3 separate regions of the Homo sapiens genome follow, and all the other regions are linked to region 3. Evidence: promoter capture Hi-C in 16 types of primary human blood cells and fetal thymus (Javierre and others, 2016). All regions are on one chromosome and are shown on one strand. Each heading gives the region's core, a stretch centred on a gene start or on the middle of the fragment in contact. The rest is flanking DNA. Distances are from core to core; before and after follow the strand shown.

Region 1 (3,298 bases), core at 358-2,857, 1.9 Mb before region 3:
TTTATTTCGTTTAAACAAGTAATTTGTGCATTTATAGCTTTTTCTTTTAATTAAAAGTAAGAGTGGAAAAAAGTCACTGAAATGTCTAATTTCAAATAAAATATTTGATTTCTAATTTCTGTTTTTCAAACAAACAAAAAACCCCAGAAGCATTATGAAAGGTTTTACTGTGCAGGAGGAAATGTTACTAGGTTGATGGGCCTAGCCAGAACACCTAACATCCTCCATCTAGTCTCCAAACTGAGGCTGTGGCCCTGCAGAGAGCGCCACCCGGAAGCCACTTTTATAGAAGCTTTTACACACAATGCTTGATTTTTTTTTTTTTTTTTCCGAGACGGAGTCTCGCTTTGTCGCCCAGGCTGGAGTGCAGTGGCGCGATCTGGGCTCACTGCAAGCTCCGCCTCCTGGGTTGACGCCATTCTCCTGCCTCAGCTTCCCGAGTAGCTGGGACTACAGGCGCCCGCCACCAAGCCTGGCTAATTTTTTTTTATTTTTAGTGGAGACAGAGTTTCACCGTGTTAGCCAGGATGGTCTCGATCTCCTGACCTCGGGATCCGCCCGCCTCGGCCTCCCAAAGTGCTGGGAGTATAGGCGTGAGCCACCGCGCCTGGCCTATACTTGATTTTTAATGAAAACATTCTTAAATTCATATGGCTAACGCAAATTTATTTTCTGTAGGCATAACATCAAAAACACCTGGCAGGATTGCCCCATTCCCAGCACTGTCTATTTCTCCCCTAGTATCAGTGGGACTCCACTGATGCACAGCTGTGATCTACTAAAACTTCTCTCAAAACTTTCTCCTCTCCTTAGGTCAGCAGCCCCGCCCCTGATCTATTTGGAAATCCCCTGAATAAAAGTTGAATATCATAAACCAAAGCGAACACCCAGAAATTCAAATTCAACCCGTAGGTAAAAAATTTCTCAAGTGACTGTAGACGTAGATGTCTCCAGTGTCGCCTAATAAGGTAGAAGAGGCCAGTGCGATACTGTCTTTACACCCTTAACTTGGGTGCTAGAATATTTATCTTCGTCATCATTTTATCATCCAAACTATTTTGCATAACTTTCATGGGTGCAGAAAATGTTTTTTAAGTGCTTGGTAAAATTAATAGTGATATTCATTCATTCATCTCACTGAACAGGCAATAAATTCCTTGACGACAAGGGCCTTGGGGGGGTCACATCTTCATCTTTGGTTTATGAGTCCTGTGCGTCTTGGTACAAGCAATACTACTATGAGCCGGCAAGTCAGACTTATTTGGTAGGGGACCAAAGGAAAGAACATGTTTTGATTGCTAAGAAAACATTTTGTTCTCTATCCTTTACTGGGCTGGCAGGCAAAGGAAATGTTCTTATGAGCACTCACATTGAAAACTTAAGTTCTTCACCAAATGCAGAGACTCTGAAGGCCACGCCGCTGCGGGCTGCCTCCACAATTCGACCGTCTCGGCGGGCCACGAGATCCTGGCCACGGATGCGGTGGCCGCGCCTCTGCTCGCACGTTCCCCCGGCCTCTGGACTCCCTCCCTCCCTCAATCCCTCCCTCCGGCGGGCGTCGCTGGCGGGTGGCTAGGCCCAACGGCAGGAAGCCGACGCTATCCTCCGTTCCGCGGCGCCGGGTCCGCCTTCCGTCTGTTCTAGGGCCTGCTCCTGCGCGGCAGCTGCTTTAGAAGGTCTCGAGCCTCCTGTACCTTCCCAGGGATGAACCGGGCCTTCCCTCTGGAAGGCGAGGGTTCGGGCCACAGTGAGCGAGGGCCAGGGCGGTGGGCGCGCGCAGAGGGAAACCGGATCAGTTGAGAGAGAATCAAGAGTAGCGGATGAGGCGCTTGTGGGGCGCGGCCCGGAAGCCCTCGGGCGCGGGCTGGGAGAAGGAGTGGGCGGAGGCGCCGCAGGAGGCTCCCGGGGCCTGGTCGGGCCGGCTGGGCCCCGGGCGCAGTGGAAGAAAGGGACGGGCGGTGCCCGGTTGGGCGTCCTGGCCAGCTCACCTTGCCCTGGCGGCTCGCCCCGCCCGGCACTTGGGAGGAGCAGGGCAGGGCCCGCGGCCTTTGCATTCTGGGACCGCCCCCTTCCATTCCCGGGCCAGCGGCGAGCGGCAGCGACGGCTGGAGCCGCAGCTACAGCATGAGAGCCGGTGCCGCTCCTCCACGCCTGCGGACGCGTGGCGAGCGGAGGCAGCGCTGCCTGTTCGCGCCATGGGGGCACCGTGGGGCTCGCCGACGGCGGCGGCGGGCGGGCGGCGCGGGTGGCGCCGAGGCCGGGGGCTGCCATGGACCGTCTGTGTGCTGGCGGCCGCCGGCTTGACGTGTACGGCGCTGATCACCTACGCTTGCTGGGGGCAGCTGCCGCCGCTGCCCTGGGCGTCGCCAACCCCGTCGCGACCGGTGGGCGTGCTGCTGTGGTGGGAGCCCTTCGGGGGGCGCGATAGCGCCCCGAGGCCGCCCCCTGACTGCCGGCTGCGCTTCAACATCAGCGGCTGCCGCCTGCTCACCGACCGCGCGTCCTACGGAGAGGCTCAGGCCGTGCTTTTCCACCACCGCGACCTCGTGAAGGGGCCCCCCGACTGGCCCCCGCCCTGGGGCATCCAGGCGCACACTGCCGAGGAGGTGGATCTGCGCGTGTTGGACTACGAGGAGGCAGCGGCGGCGGCAGAAGCCCTGGCGACCTCCAGCCCCAGGCCCCCGGGCCAGCGCTGGGTTTGGATGAACTTCGAGTCGCCCTCGCACTCCCCGGGGCTGCGAAGCCTGGCAAGTAACCTCTTCAACTGGACGCTCTCCTACCGGGCGGACTCGGACGTCTTTGTGCCTTATGGCTACCTCTACCCCAGAAGCCACCCCGGCGACCCGCCCTCAGGCCTGGCCCCGCCACTGTCCAGGAAACAGGGGCTGGTGGCATGGGTGGTGAGCCACTGGGACGAGCGCCAGGCCCGGGTCCGCTACTACCACCAACTGAGCCAACATGTGACCGTGGACGTGTTCGGCCGGGGCGGGCCGGGGCAGCCGGTGCCCGAAATTGGGCTCCTGCACACAGTGGCCCGCTACAAGTTCTACCTGGCTTTCGAGAACTCGCAGCACCTGGATTATATCACCGAGAAGCTCTGGCGCAACGCGTTGCTCGCTGGGGCGGTGCCGGTGGTGCTGGGCCCAGACCGTGCCAACTACGAGCGCTTTGTGCCCCGCGGCGCCTTCATCCACGTGGACGACTTCCCAAGTGCCTCCTCCCTGGCCTCGTACCTGCTTTTCCTCGACCGCAACCCCGCGGTCTATCGCCGCTACTTCCACTGGCGCCGGAGCTACGC
Region 2 (3,730 bases), core at 1,027-3,526, 1.4 Mb before region 3:
GAGATCCAGAACAGAATAATGGGTTGTGGAGAGAGTTATTTAGGACAGGAGAGTATATGGGTTTGGCACCACGGGGTAGATAGGCAAAACAATTTGGTTGATAAGGCACAGATCCTGAACTAACCTGTAAGACTTGTCCGGTTTTTGGACAGGTAAAATGGGGGAATTGTAAGGAGAGTTTATAGGCTTTAAAAGGCCATGCTGTAACAGTCGAGTGATAACAGGCTTTAATCCTTTTAAAGCCTGCTGCGGGATGGGATATTGGCATTGAGCGGGGTAAGGGTGATTAGGTTTTAATGAGATGGTAAGGGGTGCATGATCGGTTGACAAGGAGGCAGTAGAGGTATCCCATACTTGTGGGTTAAGGTGGGGAGATACAAGGGGAGGATGCGAAGGAGGCTTTGAACTGAGGGAAAAGGCAGCAATGAGGTGTGGCTGTAGCCCAGGAATAGTGAAGGAAGCAGATAATTTAGTTAAAATGTCTCGACCTAATAAGGGAGCTGGGCAGGTGGGGATAACTAAAAATGAGTGCATTAAAGAATGTTGTCCAAGTTGGCACCAGAGTTGGGGAGTTTTAAGAGGTTTAGAAGCTTGGCTGTCAATACCCACAACAGTTATGGAGGCAAGGGAAACAGGATTGTCAGATGAGTCTGTAGAAAAGAAGGATTCAAAGGACTCAGAGCTTGGGGTGGAGACTGAAGGAACAGACAGGAGAGAAAGAAAAAAGATTTGGGACAAGTCTCTTTGGGAGCAGAGACTAGGGAGGGACCAATGTATAAAAGAATGCCTGGATGTCGGGCACCTCAGACCATTTTTGCCCATTTTTCGACAAAAATTGTCTAGGTCTCGTAGGATGGAGAAATCAAAAGTGCCATTTTCTGGCCATTTAGAACCATTGTCGAGTTTGTACTGGGGCCAGGTGGTGTTGCAGAAGAAAATAAGATGCTTAGATTTTGGGTCAGGTGAGAGTTGAAGAGGTTTTAAGTTCTTGAGAACACAGGCTAAGGGAGAAGAAGGAGGAATGGAGGGTGGAAGGTTGCCCATAGTGAAGGAGGCAAGTTTAAAAAATAAGGGTAGAGACACAGAGAAGGGGGGTGGGGAGCAGCCCTGAGCTGCAACGTAGGGGAGCAGCCAAAGCAGCTGTCCCCACAGTTGATTTGCCCATCAAGGGAATGTGGGTGAATGATAATGTGGGTGAATGCGGAGATCAGACACCAATGGAACATGGGTGAATAATCAGAGACACATCCCCACAATGATTAAACACCAAGGGAAGGCTGCCTTCCCGAGTCCGTGACCAGCGCCGGAGTTTTGGGTCCAGGGATAAAATGTGTCTCCTTTGTCTCTACCAGAAAATAAAAGGAATTGAAATTAAGAGAAGAAAGAGATTGAAGGGTGGCGCCAAGATTGAAAGAAGAAAGAGGTTGAGGGATAGTGAGAGAGGTTGGAGAAGACAGTAAAAAGAGCTGCTTGCCTGATTTAAAATCAGTGAGATGTTCCTTGGGCTGGTTGGTCTGAGGACTGGAGGTCGTATGTGGATCTTTTCACAGAGTGAGGGTGAGGACAGGGGACTGGTCTCCCGAAGGAGTCCCGCTGACCCAGGTCTTCGGCACGAAATGTCTCACGTGTCCGTGTCAAGAGACCCCCAAAGAGGCTTTGTGTGAGCAACAAGGCTGTTTATTTCTCCTGGGTGCAGGCGGGCTAAGTCCAAAAAGAGAGTCAGCAAAGGGTGGTGGGATTATCATTAGTTCTTACAGGTTTTGGGATAGGTGGTGGAGTTAAGAGCAATGTTTTGGGGGCAGGGGGTGGATCTCACAAAGTACATTCTCGAGGGTGGGGGGAATTACAAAGAAACTTCTTAAGGGTGGGGGAGATTATAAAGAAACTTCGTAAGGGTGGGGGAGATTACAAAGTACATTGATCAGTTAGGGTGGGGCAGAAACAAATCACAATGGTGGAATGTCATCAGTTAAGGCTATTTTCACTTCTTTTGTGGATCTTCAGTTGCTTCAGGCCATCTGGATGTGTATGTGCAGGTCACTGGGGATATGATGGCTTAGCTTGGGCTCAGAGGCCTGACAATGTTTACATATCCTGATGTTAGCATATGTTTTAGCTTAGCTTAATGCTAGCTGAATATTTCTTTTGTCTGGTTATATACTTATTTAAAAAATATGAATATTCTGTATCTTTTGTTGTTGTTGTTTAGGTGTATTGTTTCGACTTCCTAGAAGAGACCCCCAGGTACAGTGGGACACTAGCTGCTACTAGTGCACCCAAGCCTGAGAATCAGGAGAAGCCTCACAGTGACACCCCCAACTGAGGAAACTCACAGAGCTGGGACATACTCTACTTCTTCAGAAAAAAGTATACTGACTAGAGTGGAGTCCCCCTGGGGAGTCAGAAAGCCTGTGAAAGATCTCACTTGTTCAAAAGTCCAAGTGTGAATTACTGTCTCACAGATAAACCAAAGTATTTTGAAAAACAAAGGGGAGAAAAGAAATTACTCCCCAGAACTCTCAGGCATCTAGAGGACACCCAAGAACGTGGGAGTCAGCTGCTTCTTGTGTGCAGCCATGAAGTCTGTGCACTCCAGTCCCCAGAACACGAGTCATACCATCATGACGTTTTACCCAACCATGGAAGAATTTGCAGATTTCAACACATATGTTGCTTACATGGAGTCCCAAGGCGCACATCAAGCTGGCCTTGCCAAGGTAATTCCACCCAAGGAATGGAAAGCCAGACAGATGTATGATGATATCGAAGACATCTTAATAGCCACTCCCCTCCAGCAGGTGACCTCTGGGCAGGGAGGTGTGTTTACTCAATACCATAAAAAGAAGAAAGCCATGAGGGTGGGGCAGTATCGCCGCTTGGCAAACAGTAAAAAATATCAGACTCCGCCACACCAGAATTTTGCAGATTTGGAGCAACGATACTGGAAGAGCCACCCCGGTAATCCACCAATTTATGGTGCTGATATCAGCGGCTCCTTATTTGAAGAAAGCACTAAACAATGGAACCTAGGACACCTGGGAACAATTCTGGACCTGTTGGAGCAGGAATGTGGGGTTGTCATCGAGGGTGTCAACACACCCTACCTGTACTTTGGCATGTGGAAGACCACGTTTGCCTGGCACACAGAGGACATGGACCTTTACAGCATCAACTACCTGCACTTTGGGGAGCCCAAAACTTGGTACGTGGTGCCCCCAGAACATGGTCAGCACCTGGAACGCCTGGCCAGGGAGCTCTTCCCAGACATTTCTCGGGGCTGTGAGGCCTTCCTGCGGCACAAAGTGGCCCTCATCTCGCCTACAGTTCTCAAGGAAAATGGGATTCCCTTCAATTGCATGACTCAGGAGGCTGGGGAGTTCATGGTGACCTTTCCCTATGGCTACCATGCTGGCTTCAATCACGGCTTCAACTGCGCAGAAGCCATTAATTTTGCCACTCCACGATGGATTGATTATGGCAAAATGGCCTCTCAGTGTAGCTGTGGGGAGTCGACAGTGACCTTTTCCATGGACCCCTTTGTGCGCATTGTGCAACCCGAGAGTTATGAGCTCTGGAAACACAGGCAAGACTTGGCCATTGTGGAACACACAGAGCCCAGGGTTGCAGAAAGCCAAGAGCTGAGCAACTGGAGAGATGATATAGTACTTAGAAGAGCTGCTCTGGGCCTGAGGCTTCTCCCAAACCTCACAGCCCAGTGTCCCACACAGCC
Region 3 (3,636 bases), core at 1,080-3,579:
TCTATAATCACTTATTAGTTCCTGTAGTTTTTTTGTGTGTTGATTCTTTGGAATTTTCTACCTAAACATTCATGTCATCCATGGGCAAAGACAGTTTTATTTATTCTACTCAATCTTATGCCTTTTATTTCTTTATCTTGTCCTGTTTTATCAGCTAGGATTTTCAGTGTAATGTTGAATAGGAGTGAAAGAACATAGTTACTTTTTTAAAAGAAAATATTTTATGAATTTGATAGTAGAATTAGGCAATTTAATCCCATGTTAAATAAGAATATAAAATTTTGATTAGTAGGGTAGCCAAGCTTCTTATAAAATAATAAATTGCTGAGAAAACCAATTTAAATTCCCCTGGAAACAGCGATTTCTGACTGACGTAATGGATCAAAAGGAGATTTTCTTTTAAGTCAGTGTCCAGGGAGTATGTAAAACAATTGAATAAGGAACCCCTCTTATATTAAATACAAAGCACCCAGAGGAATAAAAAAATCAATAAACATACACACATACATGCAAGACACACCAGGGAGCATATAAAACATATAAAATATTCTCATTTCCTAATTCAATTTGATAATAACAACTAATTTTAAAAATCAGACCTTTAGTGACTATTATGGAGAGACATAGTGGGTGAAAGGAAAGAAATTTTTTAGCATCATTATAGACTACCAGATACCTTTGCTGTATTAAGATTTTTTTAAATGGAAAAACAGAAGAGATAAGGAAGAATAGAAACAAAGGATGACACAGTCACATGTTCACAAGACAAAGAAACGCAAACACACATACTCACTTCATACTGGAGTTGCAAATGTGAACTAGCACAGCTAAAAGGGAGAGACAATTACAGGGACTCACAAAATTACTATGTAGGAGGCTTTCATGTGGATGAAGAGACAGGATAACAAGCACCTGCGGAATAAAACACACACACACACGCACACACACACACACGCCCACCATGAAGCTCCGTTCAAAATTCAAATGCATATAATCTGCAGAAAAACAAAGATACACTCATTTTAAAGCGTGTATCCCTGACACATTTTAAAGTGGATATCCCTGTTTCCATTTTGTTTTATAGATGGTTTGATTCTAACTTCATTTGGAAACATAGATGATCTGAAATCTTAATTTTTGAGAAAGAAAACCCAAATTTAGTCTTCAGGAGAGTTTTAAATATCTTGAAACAAAACAGGGGTTGGGATGCGGGAGCAGGGCAATGGGGACATTTAAGATGGAGTAACATCCCCATCTTGTGGTATATCAGAATATTGACTCTTCTTTTTAACACTATTTTGATTTAACATAGTTTTGGGTAAAAACATATCTAACTTGATTATGGGAACACGAGAGAGTAGTGACACAGGAAATTGAATCTGCAATTTCTCAACCCATTAAATTGTTCATCAATGCTGAACTAATACAAGAGTTACATTAATAAGCGGCAGGTTTAATTACTTAGCAGATGGCTGTTCAGTGTTCACCTTAATGTTATCAGACTCAGCAAAAACAAAGAGATGACCCGCATTTGTATCTATCTGTTCTACAATATATTGTCTAGAGGTTTCATTTTTTATTTTATTTTATTATTATTATTTTTGAGACTGAGTCTCGCTCTGTCGCCCAGGCTGGAGTGCAGTGGCGCGATCTGGACTCACTGCAAGCTCCACCTCCTGGGTTCAGGTCATTCTCCTGCCTCAGCCTCCCGAGTAGCTGGGAAGCGCCTGCCGCCACGCCCGGCTAATTTTTTGTATTTTTAGTAGAGATGGGGTTTCACTGTGTTAGCCAGGATGGTCTCGATCTCCTGACCTCGTGATCTGCCCACCTCGGCCTCCGAAAGTGTTGGGATTACAGGCGTGAGCCACCGCGCCCGGCCGAGGTTTCATTTTTAAAAAATGACAAACATTCTTGTTACTTTCTTGCACTTTTTTTTTCTTTCTTTTTCTTTTTCTTTTTCTTCTCTTTTCTTTTCTTTTCTTTTTTTTTTTTTTTGAGACGGAGTTCGCTCTGTTGCCCAGACTGGAGGGCAGTGGCACAATCTCGGCTCACTGCAACCTCTGCCTCCTGGGTTCAAGCGATTCTCCTGCCTCAGCTTCCCAAGTAGCTAGGATTACAGGTGCCCACCACCACGCTCAGCTAACTTTTTGTATTTTTAGTAGAGATGGGGTTTCACCATATTGGTCAGGCTGGTCTCGAACTCCTGACCTCAAATGATCCACCTGCCTAGGCCTCCCAAAGTGCTGGGATTACAGGCGTGAGCCACCACGCCTGACTATTGTCTTGCACTTTCTAATATAACAAAAAGTGAAGACTACTGCCACCACCAAAAACAATGCTTGCTTTGCTATAATCCTTTTCCTCAGACTGAGACACTTTGGCCTATTTAAAATGTGGGTAATGGCTCTAAAAATGCTTGTTTAGGATGCAGATGTATTCTCTATTTTGTCTTCTTTGACATTTTTATGTGGTTTTGGTTCTTTAGCATATGAAGTTTTATTTTTAATCAATCCATGATTTGTCCCTAAGTTGTTCTGATGGGAATATGAGAATACATAAAGGGAATATGAGATACAGCTCCTAGTGACAACATACTTATAGTCTAGTTGAAGACATAGACATGCCTACAAGAATTATAATTTAAAAACAAAACAGTGCGCAAGTTATTTTGATGTGCCACATCAAATTTTGTAGTTCTTTCCATCTTCTGCTTTAGTCACTCAATTCACTTGATAACTCCTTGAGGAGGCATCAACTGGGCATTTACTATTTTCATGATATTGTACTAGGAGCCATGAAGAATAACGAATAAAAGGTGCAGGGAAATATTAAAGCCTTTATAATCTAGTTTGGGTGACTAACCACAAAAATTTTTGGTGCCTACACCTATGTATAATATATTGACATAAATGGAAAGTGTGGGAGTTTTGGGTCTTAAGTGATAGGTCTCTCATTCACATGTTAAACTTATTTTTAAATATAAAGATAAAGAAAATTTAGAAATGACGGAATAAAAATCTGTAACACTGCTTCATTACCAAGTATTTACTATTTTGATGTACAATTGATTTTCCCCCTCATCTCAGGGTTTAGAGTTCTTAAGAACCACTGTGTAGGAGACTATAGCTGAAGCACATAGACCATATTTAGAAATTAGGACAGGATTACCAAGATCTTAACTCTTTTTAAAATTTAGTTAGAAAATATTTAGGAATAACTCTCATGAAAAGGTTCAAGTCTTTCTTGAAGAGAACTACAAAATAAGTAGAGGAACATAAAAGAATCTTGATTAAGTGGATGTTCTTGGGTGTGAAATATTAATATTGTAAAGAAGTAAATTCTCCTCAGATTACTACACAAATAGAATGCAATTCCCATTGGAATCCCAACTTTGCAACGTGGCTCTAAAGTTAATTTTAATAATTAAATTTTAGAGAAGAGCTAAACCTTTTTTTCTGAGGAAAATGAAGAAAGAAGATGAGTAAAGACAAACACAATTAAAATTAAAATCACCTGGTATTGGCAGAGGAAGAGAAAGACAGTTCAATGAGATTAGAAACCCCATAAAAAGTTATATTTAAGAATTTCATATATGATGAAAGTAATATTCTAAATTGGTGAGAAAAGAATGAGTTT

The links. Contacts are between HindIII fragments. The CHiCAGO score rates a contact against its expected background, and 5 or more counts as called.
Region 1: the fragment with the promoter of FUT4 here is called in contact with a fragment that was not itself captured in region 3 in 1 of 17 cell types (total B cells); the score reaches 7.2 in total B cells.
Region 2: the fragment with the promoter of KDM4E here is called in contact with a fragment that was not itself captured in region 3 in 4 of 17 cell types (total CD4 T cells, activated CD4 T cells, M2 macrophages and 1 more); the score reaches 6.9 in total CD4 T cells.

The regions. Positions count from the first base shown.
Region 1 is chr11:94,542,314-94,545,611 of GRCh38, forward strand. FUT4 (fucosyltransferase 4) reads left to right here and starts at 1,608. Exons shown (of 1, transcript NM_002033.4): 1 at 1,608-3,298. The coding sequence starts at 1,821. It overlaps PIWIL4-AS1 (PIWIL4 antisense RNA 1), which reads right to left. Exons shown (of 5, transcript NR_135093.1): 5 at 3,019-3,298. RefSeq lists a silencer at 1,796-2,365 and an enhancer at 3,185-3,298. The HindIII fragment of the contact is 5,462 bases long and covers 291-3,298 here.
Region 2 is chr11:95,022,982-95,026,711 of GRCh38, forward strand. KDM4E (lysine demethylase 4E) reads left to right here and starts at 2,277. Exons shown (of 1, transcript NM_001161630.1): 1 at 2,277-3,730. The coding sequence starts at 2,577. The HindIII fragment of the contact is 8,893 bases long and covers 589-3,730 here.
Region 3 is chr11:96,425,729-96,429,364 of GRCh38, forward strand. No RefSeq gene overlaps it. Among named protein-coding and RNA genes, the nearest start is that of JRKL, 38 kb to the left of the region's middle. RefSeq lists a silencer at 1,885-2,097. The HindIII fragment of the contact is 4,059 bases long and covers 301-3,636 here.